Regions from separate parts of the Homo sapiens genome. Here all the other regions are linked to region 1. Evidence: promoter capture Hi-C in 16 types of primary human blood cells and fetal thymus (Javierre and others, 2016). All regions are on one chromosome and are shown on one strand. Each heading gives the region's core, a stretch centred on a gene start or on the middle of the fragment in contact. The rest is flanking DNA. Distances are from core to core; before and after follow the strand shown. Region 1 holds the start of XPR1 (xenotropic and polytropic retrovirus receptor 1). Region 2 overlaps XPR1 (xenotropic and polytropic retrovirus receptor 1). Region 3 overlaps XPR1 (xenotropic and polytropic retrovirus receptor 1). Region 4 overlaps XPR1 (xenotropic and polytropic retrovirus receptor 1).

The links. The method cuts DNA at HindIII sites, captures the fragments that hold promoters and counts their contacts. A CHiCAGO score of 5 or more calls a contact.
Region 2: a contact is called between a fragment that was not itself captured here and the fragment with the promoter of XPR1 in region 1, in 2 of 17 cell types (erythroblasts and naive B cells). The highest score is 5.3, in erythroblasts.
Region 3: a contact is called between a fragment that was not itself captured here and the fragment with the promoter of XPR1 in region 1, in 1 of 17 cell types (erythroblasts). The highest score is 6.0, in erythroblasts.
Region 4: a contact is called between a fragment that was not itself captured here and the fragment with the promoter of XPR1 in region 1, in 6 of 17 cell types (erythroblasts, megakaryocytes, M0 macrophages and 3 more). The highest score is 10.5, in erythroblasts.

What each region holds. Positions count from the first base shown.
Region 1 is chr1:180,630,361-180,633,613 of GRCh38, reverse strand. XPR1 (xenotropic and polytropic retrovirus receptor 1) reads right to left here and starts at 1,592. Exons shown (of 15, transcript NM_004736.4): 1 at 1,344-1,592. The coding sequence starts at 1,412. RefSeq lists enhancers at 727-1,227, 1,228-1,728 and a silencer at 853-1,232. The HindIII fragment of the contact is 29,339 bases long and covers 1-3,253 here.
Region 2 is chr1:180,773,783-180,777,030 of GRCh38, reverse strand. The region is part of intron 2 of XPR1 (xenotropic and polytropic retrovirus receptor 1); the gene reads right to left. Among named protein-coding and RNA genes, the nearest start is that of LINC02816, 130 kb to the left of the region's middle. The HindIII fragment of the contact is 961 bases long and covers 861-1,821 here.
Region 3 is chr1:180,822,594-180,825,678 of GRCh38, reverse strand. It overlaps XPR1 (xenotropic and polytropic retrovirus receptor 1), which reads right to left. Exons shown (of 15, transcript NM_004736.4): 8 at 736-926; 9 at 335-514. Among named protein-coding and RNA genes, the nearest start is that of LINC02816, 82 kb to the left of the region's middle. The HindIII fragment of the contact is 4,014 bases long and covers 1-3,085 here.
Region 4 is chr1:180,844,875-180,848,138 of GRCh38, reverse strand. All of the region lies in intron 11 of XPR1 (xenotropic and polytropic retrovirus receptor 1), which reads right to left. Among named protein-coding and RNA genes, the nearest start is that of LINC02816, 60 kb to the left of the region's middle. The HindIII fragment of the contact is 8,768 bases long and covers 1-3,264 here.

The DNA of each region.
Region 1 (3,253 bases), core at 343-2,842:
CTAGCAATAATGAAATACTCTAGGTTGCAAGTGAATTTATTTCACAATATTCAAGATTCCGTTTAACCTACCTGCATCTCTTTCCCTGTCTTCTTCAATTATTACAATGGCTATATGAATAAATACACTCACTGCTATTGCCCAAACCTCCTATCACTAAACTTATATAAAAATTAAATGGAGAACTAAAATAGTTTAATTCATAAAATCTAGCTAAGTTATGTGTGTTCATATTGATTTTATATTCTTTGTTCCTGCACACAAAACAGATGTGAATTCCTGGAGGTTACAGATAAGTCTGTCTTTCTCTATCCAGGAGCTGAATTGCCAGCTACTGAGAATAACCTATTGCAATGCTTAAAGCCTCTTAGGTATCTTGTCTTCTGAACATATAAATGGGTTCATTATCTTTATTTTTCCCTTTATTAATGTAAGGTTCCTTATTATCTATTAAATACCTTCCAGCAGTGTTAGCACAGAAATTGGGAGGGAATGGGGAGCATGATTTCTGTAATACACAGGTAAGGTATATTGTTTACAATATACTAATTTTCTCCCCAGCTAGCAAAAACTTAGCAGAAAATAAAAAAATGTTAATAATTCTCTTCTCTCCTTTCTCTTCCCTCCATTCCAAAACAAGAGGCAAAAACAAAGATGTTATTACTCTGTAGACTTCATGCAATCAGTAAAAAGAGTCTTATTATCAAAGCAGAATAGTTGATTACAACGTGTTTACAAAAACTATAACCACTACATATGTGATACACACTTAAGTCAAGTTTCAACCCCGTTACAAAGCCTTTGTCAACAGTGGGCAAGTGGGAAAAAGCCGAAGGGCTCTTTGGAATGAAGGAAATCACTGGAGGGGCTTCTCTTGGAAGACAAGGATTCCTTGGTGAGAGGTGTAGAGAGAGAAACAAGACCTAACCTTGGCGAGGGGGCGCTCGCCCAGGGTGGGGACGAGAGGTCAGGGCGAGTGGGGAGAAGGGGATTAGCGCGGAACAGCCGCGACCCGGGGCTGCCCTCGCACCGTGACTCCCCCACCTGCAGCTCACCCTCCCACCGTTCCCCGGCCCCGGCCCCGGCCCGGGCAGCGCCTTTCCTCCCGGCCCTCCGCCTGCATATCCGTTACCCCGGCGGCAGCGGGGCTGCGGGGGAGGGGAAGGACAGCGGAGCCGGGAGGCGGCCGGCCGCGGCGGGGATGCCGCAGTGGCTCCCCGCGGCAGCGGGTCAAAGTCTGCCCGGGCACAGGGAGCCAGCTGAAGCGGAAGGCGGCGGTGGACGTCAGGACTGGCGAGATGGTGGCCCCTCCGAGTCCTCCCACACCCCAGCCGTGCCGGTACCTCATACTGGATGTATTGCTTCCTCCACTCGGGAGTGATGTGCGCGGAGAGGTGCTCGGCGAACTTCATCCTGCCGTTTCCCCCTCACTCCCACTCGGGTCCAGCAGCTACAGGCGGCGGCGGCAACAGCGACTCCGACTCCTCCCCACATGGGCCCCGGCGCGGCGCGGCGCTGCGCTTCTCTCCTCCTCCGCCGCCGCCGAGGTCTCTTCAGAGCAGCCCGCCCGCCATCTTCCTCCTCCTCTCCATAGCCCCGCCCCTCCCCGCCCTCTGGACGTCATCGCCATGGTAACCGCCTACACCGCCCTGACGAAGGGGGTGCTGTAAGGGGTGGGGCTTGGGTACGCTTCTTAAGACTCCGCCCCTTGTGGGCCGTACGTGCTGGAGGCACCTCCCTGGATCTCTTCAGTCTGGCTCCTGTTGGCCTACAGCTGCTTTCTACCGCCTGTCTGGGAAGCAGCAGTGTTGTTACTGCAGTTAATATTAATACTGTAGCAACAATAATCCACACAAGACGTTTATATTTACAAAGAACTGTGCAAATATTTTTCCATTTTGATATTTATGCTTCATAAAACCTTTAAGAAATGGATCAGCACTAATCCAAACTAAGAAGCTAAAACAGTTCAGGACTAAATGTATTTAAAGGAACAGTATTTTACACACTCTAGGTGCTCAATAAGTGCTTATTGAATTTAATTAAAGACATCAATGCCAAAAAGTGCATGCTGCTTCTGAATTTCAATGTAATTGTCTAGTCCAGGGGCTATCAGAAAAGCCAATAAAAACACCAAATGAGGGTACCGACCGCACTTGTAAACTGAGCTTCCTGGGGTTGGGGGTGAGGGTTGGGAGGGAAACCAACGTTGAGAGGAAAGAGAACCCCGTAGAAGTACAGCTCTAAGCCCACCCCAGTAAAACCGGAAACAGGCCCAGCACCCAGGCTGAAGTGTCCCTGGGGAACATGGGCAGAGATCACTCACAGAGCTCTGTACTACATTGAGTGTGGGAGTGATTGTCTTGGAAGTCCCAATTCAGGACAGAAACCCAGGTCCTACCCTGGGTGGAGGAGACCTAATAATAATTTATTGAGCACTCACTGTTCCTGTACCAAGTGCTATTCTAAACCTCTTACATGTACTTTGTCCCTTGATTCTAACATTTTTTTTTTTGGTCTCGCTTTGTTGCCCAGGCTGGAGTGCAGTCACACCATCATGGTTCACTGCAGCCTTACCTCACATAGGTTTGTGAGCCATCCTCCCACCTCAGCCCCCTGAGTAGCTGGGACTACAGGCACATGCCATTATGCCAAACTAATTTTTTTGTTTATTTTTGGGAGAGATGTGGGTCTTGCTATGTTGCCCAGGCTGGTCTTGAGCTCCTGAGCTAAAACAGTCCTCCCACCTAGGCCTCCTAAAGTGCTGGAATTACAGGCATGAGCCACCTTGCTCAGCCTAACCCTCACAATTTTGATGAGATTTCAAGATTTACTAGGGAACTGCTATGCCTGGAGCAGTGCTCTGAGATATCATTCTCTGCTGTTGTCTTTTTTTCTCCATGTACTTTTTTCCCCTTTCTCTTCCCCTTAATTCATGCCAATAGGGATTCTGCAATCATTTCCCCAGGAGAGGGATGACACAAGATGGAAAATAGGCATAGACTATGAGTCTTTCTGGCTTTTTCTGTATAAAAGCCTTAACCTCTGGTGAAAGGGTAATCAAGGTCAAAAAAATAAAGAAAGAAGAGTGAGGACTCCTCTCACCTCAGACCTCCGTCTGCTCACCATAAAGATTCCCCTCTGCTGGAGGTAAACCTTGCCAGGAGAAAGAGACAGGCAAAAAGGAATATGTGTGCTACCAGGAAGGAGGCGAGACCACAGAAAGGAAATGGCTGTATGTTGTGCCTGGGAA
Region 2 (3,248 bases), core at 92-2,591, 140 kb before region 1:
GCAAATTTCTAACTAAAACTGCTAATTTCTGCAAAATGATTCTGAATATAACTAGGCTTAAGTAGTCCCTACACAAGATTTTCTGATCTGAGTCTATCTTAAGGTTTTATCAGGTGAGGTTTAACTAAATGTGTTTAAAATATTCTTGGTAGAACACACACAAAAAAGTCTTTTCACTTATAACAGTGACATGTAATTGAGAAAAAAATCAATCTCACTGGCACTAGATACAATACAATCCAAGCTATTTATTATCCCAATGAGTATTTACCTAATGTCTGCTAGGTAAAGAACAACAATAAATGAAATATCAATAAATAATTCAAACAAGGGCATAATTCATTAGTAAAGTGGGAGGAATGTAACAGTGGTTTTCAAATGATTTTTGCCCTTGTAACTTCTAAAATAATTTTGAATAACTATCTTGCAATTGTTAAGTCATGATAACTGATTTTGAACACATTTAAATAATTATAAACAATGTAATTTCTGGTACCCTGCAATCATTTACATTTTAAAATACAAGGACTTTGTTTTAATTGTATAATGGAAATTGTATAATTTCCATTATACAATTATTCCATTATACAATCCAATTGTATAATTATACAATTATACAATTTCCAAAATTATAATGGAAATTAAATGCCATAATAATTCAATAACTACTTGAATTAATTCAATAACTACTTTATGTATTTGGTTTCATCTTATAGACATAAATGTTAAGAAATATTGTTAACATAAATAAGTAGATCAGAATGAAAGTTTGTTGCAGCAATGTCAATCTTTGAATGCCTATGTATTTTCCAAAAGCCACATGGTGATTATTGAAAATTAATTTTAATGATAAATAAGCTTACAATTAAGTCTTCTTTCAGTTTCAGTGAAAACAAAAAACTGGACTTGCAAAGGATTTGTTACCCTGTTACTCACTTTCTTAATACCTACAATGAGTATTTGAGTATTTCAGAGAATTCCTTTGTTTGGGATCCAAAATGGCAACAACGTATCACAGCAAAATTTAGATTGCGTAAGAGACAAGCCTTTCTTTTATAAAGTCAAGGAAAGGCAATTTGAAAGAGGACTTCTTGACTGTAGACTAATTATTCAGACCAATCAATTTCAGGAATTAGTACATATGTAAATGAATATATCCACATATATCTGGATATAAATCTGGAAATGAATTCTCTTAAAGGACAATAAAAAGGGGATTTTTTTTTCCAGCACTCTTCTCCATTTAACAAATATGACAAAATACTACTTTGTATACAGATGACAGTTTCAAGAGAATTAGGTATTTTTAACTGAAGGCCTTTTATTTTCTAATTCTGTTAGCTAATTAATCACTTTATATACCACAAAGTATACCATTATTTAAAGTCATTTTGTTAAGTAAATCTATCTAGTTAGATCCACTTTTAACTAAACTATTAGTAATCCTAGTTCTTTTTCACTCTTGCAAAGCAACAGATCAAAATTATTATTAAGACTGAAGTTACAATAAACAAAGCAAACAAAAGATATCTGAGGATAATCCAAGATGAATACTATTATTAACTTAACTGAATTCTCAGTCTTTTTTTCAATTTTTTTTCATTTTTATATAGAGACAGGGTCTTGCTTTGTTGCCCAGTCTGGTCTCAAAACTCCTGGGCTCAAGGGATCCCCCTGCCTCAGCCTCCCAAAGTGCTGGGATTACAGGTGGGAGCCATGGTGCTCGGCCCTGACTGCTCAGTCTCACTGTTGCAAAGATGAGTAAAACAATGAACCATAAGAGTCTTAACTACTCTGGTGACTTACTCCAGGGAAAAAGCTTTCAAAGAATGATAGGCAGGTAACCATCTCATTTCTCTCCAAACTGCCAAGCATATATGTAATGTTGTGGTTTGAATGTGTCCCCCCAAATTCATGATAAAGCTTAATCACCCATGCCATAGTATTTAGAGGTGGGGCTTTAAGAGGTGTTTAGGTGAATGGGATTAGTGACGTTATAAAAGAGGCTGAAGAAATCTCCCTAGTCCCTTTCATCCTTTCTGCCATGTAAGGACATAGTGTTGGACCCCTCCAGAGGACACAACAACAAGATGCCATCTTGGAAGCAGAAGGCAAGCCTTTATCAGGCACTACGTCTGTTGGTGCCTTGATCCTGGACTTCCCAGCCTCCAGAACTATGAGAAATAAATTTCTATTATTTATATATTACCCAGACTAAAGTATTTTGTTATAGCAGAAAGGATGGACTAAGACATATAGCTAAAGAGAAAACACATTTATGATGAACATCAATATTGGTCAGATATAAAAAGATAGGAAAGACAGGCCAGACGTGGTGGCTGACACCTGTAATCCCAGCACTTTGGGCGGCCGAGGCAGGCAGATCACGAGGTCAGGAGATTGAGACTACCCTGGCTAACACGGTGAAACCCCATCTCTACTAAATATACAAAAAAACAAACAAACAAAAAAATTAGCTGGGCATGGTGGCGGGTGCCTGTAGTCCCAGCTACTAGGGAGGCTGAGGCAGGAGAATGGCATGAACCCGGGAGGCGGAGCTTGCAGTGAGCCGAGATCACGCCACTGCACTCCAGCCTGGGCGACAGACCAAGACTTCCATCTCAAAAAAAAAAAAAAAAAAAAAAAGATAGGAAAGACAGATTTCTTTTTTTAAAAAAAGTATTAAAAAATCCAGATATGGGTTATCCTTTGTTAATTCTTTAACATCCATAAACTACATCTTTGTTGCAAAATTCCTGCAATATTCTCTTTTATTCTGATTTCACAGCAACATAACCAAATAAAGAAAATTAAGTTCTTAGCTCAAATTCCCTCAAAGCCAGGGTTTTATATACTTCTCTCTTCCTCTATATTCTGGGACATTTCAGTATTCTTCAAATTAGACCAGAAATGCAGCCACTTGTTTGTCTGATAAAGACACTCTTCCAATGACTAAAAGAAAATTGATAAAATACATCACAGAATCATACTGAGAAAGATGACAGAACAAAGCAAATGTATATAAAACAATGAAATTAAGGAAACAACTGACTATGAAAATGCAATTTTTAAAAAAAGTTTAGTGATTATATATTTAAATAGAAGATCTGGACAAGTGGTAAAATCTCTATTTTCTTGAGGAAAACAGAACACATTCTATTCGATTAATAAACCTTAACTAATTTCTAATGTAAAATCACAGTTTTGGCTCTTAATTACATATAGACAAATTTATCATCTAAGCAACT
Region 3 (3,085 bases), core at 250-2,749, 190 kb before region 1:
GTTGATACTCACATCAACTTAACAGGAAAATAATTCTTTTACCACATTTTTTTGGGGGAAGGAAACTTACAAAGTTCTACATCTTATCACAGCTAGTTAAACGAAGTAAAAAATGTTTATAATTTACAAAATCATCTCAATATTTGGCCACCTGATACTCGATCTCAGGAGGAAAATATACGTGAGTACTTTTTCCCAGGGCCTCCACTCACATAAACTATAATGTGAACCACGGCCTCTGCAGTTGTACAACCTAGCAGCCTTGGTTTTATCTTAGAGGAAGTCAATAACCAATATGCCACTCTAAAAGTGGTACACAAGTTTCTGGACTTACCAGCAGTTTAAGCAGCCAAAACCGGGATTTATAGTAGAAAGTTTTGGTGGGGTTGATAAGGAAGAAAACCATAAATCCATAAAGGGCAAGTGGATACACATATGTGGGGATGACACTAATTGGAGCAAAGAAGCATGCCAGAAGGCTCAGGCACCACAATATCCCGAGGAATCCAGCAATCTAGTAAAGGATGGGGAAGACAGAAAGATAGAGAAAAATTGTTATTTTTACTTTTACCATTACTTAAAATATCTTTAATAAAACAAAAGTAAGAAACATGATTAGTTATTAAGCTAATAATCCTCTTCAAGTAGAGGATGGATTTAAGTACCCACTAAACCAGATAGCTATATAGCTAATGCAAACTATATTCATGAGGTGTTATGTCTTGCTTTGATTACCTCAAAGAGATGTTGATGAGACAAATTGCTTCTCGGATTAAGTTCAAAGATGAGTACATGGTTTACTCCAGCCTGTCTCCAACCATACGTGTTGATGCCCAGTAGAAAAAGGAATTCAATCAGAAGAAAGCCACCCCGATAGATTCTTATCAAGGGCCATATACTTCTATCTGTTTCAAGTTTAAATACAGCTGAAAGAATATTAAGATATTGGTCAGTTATAAAATTCATAACTTCCCTTGAATTAATAATCTTTTGTCTTCATTCTCAATGATATAGCCCTGGCATAGAAATTTTTCATAAATAAAACCTAAACCTAGATTATCTATCATCTATCTATCTATCTATCTACCTATTTATTTTTTTGAGACAGTCTCACCCTGTTGCCAGGCTGGAGTGCAATGGCGTGATCTCGGCTCACTGCAACCTCCGACTCCCTGGTTCAAGCGATTCTCCTGCCTCAGTCTCCCGAGTAACTGGGATTACAGGCACGCACCACCACGCCCAGCTAATTGTTGTATTTTTAGTACAGACAGGGTTTCACCATGTTGGCCAGGATTGTCTTCATCTCCTGACCTCGTGATCCACCCACCTTGGCCTCCCAAAGTGTTGGGATTACAGGCATGAACCACCCCGCCTGGCCAAACCTAGATTATTTTAAGAGCCTTAAAAAGTCGCCTGTGGGTTCTTTCTCGTCTTCATTTTACTCTGCAGAATGTCACTAGAATAATTTCCCAAAACTTGACTTTCAGCATGTCATCCCATTGTTCTATTAGTTTTTTAGATTACAAAGAATCATGGTGAAGTGGCTTAGAATCATGTGATCAGTTCTGTCATTTGGGGATCCGGCATGACAAAACCTCTCTTTGGCTTCATTTACTCCATTATTAAACTGGATATAGTAATATCTACCTCACAGAGTTGCCATGAAAATGAGAAGGAACAGTACACATGAAAGTAGTGTGAAAATTTAAATGTCATATAAATGACAACAGTTAATATTTACGGAATGCTTACTATGTGCTAAGCACTGTTCTCAGTATTTTTACATAGAATAATTGGTAATTCATTTAACCATCACAATGGCTCTTTGAGTTAAAAACCATTATCTCCATTTGATTAGGAAACTAGAGCACAGAGAGGTTGTCATTTGCTTAGTTACTGACCTAAGCTAGAATTTGAACCCAGTTTTGCTCCAAAGTTCATACTCTTAAGCACTACATTCTATTGCCCATTATGTCCACACAAATGTTCAATATCATTATTCTATGGCTCGCCAGTAATTATAATGTTCAAATACTTTAGATACCTTAGCCTCACAATTCAAATTCTTCATAATCTAATCACCAACTCACTTTTCCCAAACTTATCTCGCAGCACCCCTAAAATATTAACTCTTGACTCGTGATGAATTTTATTATCCTTTTAATAAGTTTGTTTTTCACATTTACTTATGTTGTTCCCTCTACTTAAAATGGCCTTGTTCTTTCTCTCCACTAATTCAAATTCTACTTACTATTTAAGAGACAGATCCTGGATCCTTACCTGTTCATAAATTCACTGAATCAACATATTTCGTTTTAAGCCCACTGTATGAGAAACACTTCCATTTGGTCTAATGATTTTCCAAATAACTATAAAATTTATTGACAGTACTGCTCATTTGGAATTTAATTACATACAAACTTTTGTTTTTTTTTTTTGAGATGGAGTCTTGCTCTGTCGCTCAGACTGGAGTGCAGTGGTGTCATCTTGGCTCACTGCAACCTCTGCCTCCCGCGTTCAAGCGATTCTCCTGCCTCAGCCTCCTGAGTGGCTGGGATTACAGATGCGTGACGCCACACCCAGCTAATTTTTTGTATTTTTAGTAGAGACGGGGTTTCATCATGTTGGCCAGGCTGGTCTGGAACTCCTGACCTCAGGTGATCTGCCCTCCTCGGCCTCCCAAAGTGCTGGGATTACAGGAGTGAGCCACCATGCCCAGCCTATATACTAATTTATATACTTAAATAACCATTTATTGTTTACCTTTGTATTCTCTGTAGTATATAGAAGATTTAATAATTTTAAAATAACACGGTAGAGAAAGCCTTTGCTTTGGAATCAAGTACTACAGACCAGATTTCAAATCCTAGCGATGCCAAATTATTTATTTTTTTTTAAAGTCTCTGTTTCTTTGTTGATCAATGGGGATAATATCTATTCTCATAAGTTTATTAAGAAGATTAAATGTGAACAACATATATCAAATGCCTAGAATAACGTTTGGCTCATTATGAGTATTCAGTATATATTAGTTTCTTTTTCCTTTTACTTGAGGAAACTTTATTCCTTCATTTGACAAGTATTG
Region 4 (3,264 bases), core at 649-3,148, 210 kb before region 1:
CCTAATTACTTTGATCTGATCACATATACAGAACATCACTATGTACCCTATAAATATGTATAATTATCTTGTATCAATTTTTTTAAAGAATTTTTGTATGTATATTAATAAGTAACATTAGACTACAGCTTTATTGAGTGTGATATTTTTCAGAATTATGCTAGTTTTGTAAAGAGAAATAAGATGCTTTCCTTCTACGTTTCCAAACGGTTTAAATGGCACAAACCATTCCTTGAAGGTTTGAAAGGTTTTACAAAGTTTCACTTGTGAAAAAACTGTGGTCTGACACTTCAAAGACAACTTTCCCTATTCCTGCAATAGTTCTTAGTCCATAATTTAGAGTGTCTGCCTTCTTGCATTTATCTTGTTAATTTCTAATTTCCTAAAAATAAATGGTCCATTTTATCTAGACATTTACTCATAATTATTTTAAATTCTTCCACATCTATAATGAAAATCCCTTCCCTAATATTTTGCATGTGAGTTTTTTCACGCTTTCATCACAGATGGTGGAGAGGATATCAATACCAATTAACACCAGTTATAGTGTATTTACACAACTTAATCTTTATAATAAACTTATGAGGTGGGAATTATTCTCTCAATTTTACTAATTTTAAATCAAAGAAATCTAGTCACTTTCTCAGGGTAACATAATTAGTAAGTGGCTAAATTAACCTAGTCCTAACTCCAAAGCCCACATTCTAGTTCTCAATGTGAAAACGTGCCTTTCACTAAGATGGTGCTTTTAAAATTCTTACTGGAAGAAGGGTTGATTAAATTGAGAAGAGCTAAGTATTTTGCTCTTTAGGTAAGAAATACTACTTTCTGCAATAGAAAGTTTAATGACAGATTTAAAAATTAATTTCAAATATCAACTTTTTCAGTTGAGAAAGGAAACAGAATTAGTCTAATATTCATAAGTGAGAAGACTATATAACAGATCTTAGAGTTTCTGCCTAATTTTCTTCAGTGATTCAGTCTTTTCTATACCAGCTATGAAATGTGTTGTGTAGACTTCAACATTCTACTTTGGGAGATATTTACTTCGTTTGAGAAGATTCCTGGTAAGGATAAAATAGTTACAAGTAGTACAATTCTACCTTTAAAAGAAAGATGTTCTGGGGTATTATTCAGAAGCAACTAAAAAGTATTTAGAGAGAGGCCTGAGGAGCCCACAGGAGAGGAACAAGTAGAAATACAAATGCTACTTATCAATGAGATATTTAGGTAGATGTTTTATTTTCCTTCCTATTAAGTGGCATCATTTTTTTTTTTTTTTACTATGTGAAGAAAATATTGTGTGTAGTGTACGAAAAGTTTCTTCACTCTGAATATTTTCATGAAAACCGTATCTTATACCTATCCAAAGTATCAATGAAATTAAGTATTAGCCAGGCACCGTGGCTCACACCTGTAATCCCAACACTTTGGGAGCCCGAGGCAGGCAGGTCACCTGAGGTAAGGTCAGGAGTTTGAGACCAGCATGGCCAACATGGTCAAACCCCATCTCTACTAATAATACAAAAATTAGCTGGGTGTGGTGGTGGGCGTGTGTAATCCCAGCTACTCAGGAGGCTGAGGCAGGAGAATTGCTTGAACCTGGGAGGCAGAGGTTGCAGTGAGCTGAGATCGTGCCACTGCACTCCAGGATGGGTGACACAGCCAGATTCCATCTCAAAAAAAAAATAAATAAATAAACAAAAACAAAAACAAACAAACAAGAAATTCAACATTAGCCCACTGGTCTTTCGTTCATTACATTCTAAAAAGCATGCTCACAACATTCCTTATTTATTAACAATATAAATTGAGAAAATTGCTAGCCAGCTTTAACAAATTACCCTAACTACCCTTGACATTTTTTTTTTTTTTTTGAGATGAAGTCTCACTCTGTAGCCCAGGCTAGAGCGCAGTGGCGTGATCTCAGCTCACTGCAACCTCCGCCTCCTGGGTTCAAGCGATTCTCCTGCCTTGGCCTCCCGAGTAGCTGGAATTACAGGTGCATGCCACTCCACCTGGCTAATTTTTTATAATTTTTAGTAGAGACAGGGTTTTGCCATGTTGGCTAGGCTGGTCTTGAACTCCCAACCTCAGGTAATCTGCCTGCCTTGGCCTCCCAAAGTGCTAGGATTACAGGCGTGAGCCACCGTGCCCAGCCCCCTTGATATTTCTTAAGACCTAAAAAAGGATACAACACTAAGCAAATTAATCATGTCAAATGATTCTGCCATCACTTGAAACAACATTAATATGTTAGTTTTGTTTCCCTCCAATTCAAGAATGACTTTCGATTTTCTGGCAGAGAGAAATTATTTTCGTATTTTGGCCGAGTCCACATTGCTCTTAATTTAAGTGTGTCAGCAGGCTCAGGTCAGCTTTGGAAGACTGAGTTTGAGACTAGCCTGGGCAACAGTAGTGAGACCCTGTATCTAAAAACAATAATAAAAATTAGCTGGGCATGGTAGCACGACCCTGTAGTCCCAGCTACTCAGGAGGCTGAGGTGGGAGGATCCCATGAGCCTAGGAGTTTGAGGCTACAGTGAGATATGACCAAGCTACTCACTGCACTCCAGCCTGGGTGACAGAGCAAGACCATCTGTGAAAACAGACACACACACACACAGTCATTATTCTTCATCTACTATTTGCAGGTCCACTGTGTGACTTTTAACAAGCCACTGTATAATATTTCATATACTATGCAGTTACTGTAAGTAAGCTATTCTCCTATTGCTGAACATTTGTTAGATTATTTCAGTTTTTTACTATATAATGTTACAAAGATACATTCATTTTTGCCCAATTCTCTATTTAGGAAAAAGTTGTGGAAAGGTACTTACTAGGTCAAAAGGTATGAATGATTTTAAGATTCGAGAGAATTCCCAAATTGCTTACAAATTTATACTCTACCAACAGAATGAGTTTTCATCTCTCCGTACCCTTGCCAGTGATAGGCATCATCACTTCTTTGATTAAATATTATTTTAATTTATATTTCTGTTTTTATTACCAAAGTGGAAAATTTTTCATGTTTATTAGTTATGTTTATTCTACAAAATTAACTGTTTTAAGTCCTTTGCCACTTTAGACAAATCAGTTTAAATTGTTTTCTGTATCACAGTAGATTAGATTACATTTTAAAACTCTTCTCTCCCTTTCAGCCCATCCCTGTTTCCATGGCAGAAGTATACTTTCTTGCCCCATTAATGTAGGGTTTGGTGACTTGCTTTGGCCTAGCAGTTGCAATGGCCTTTGGAGGAT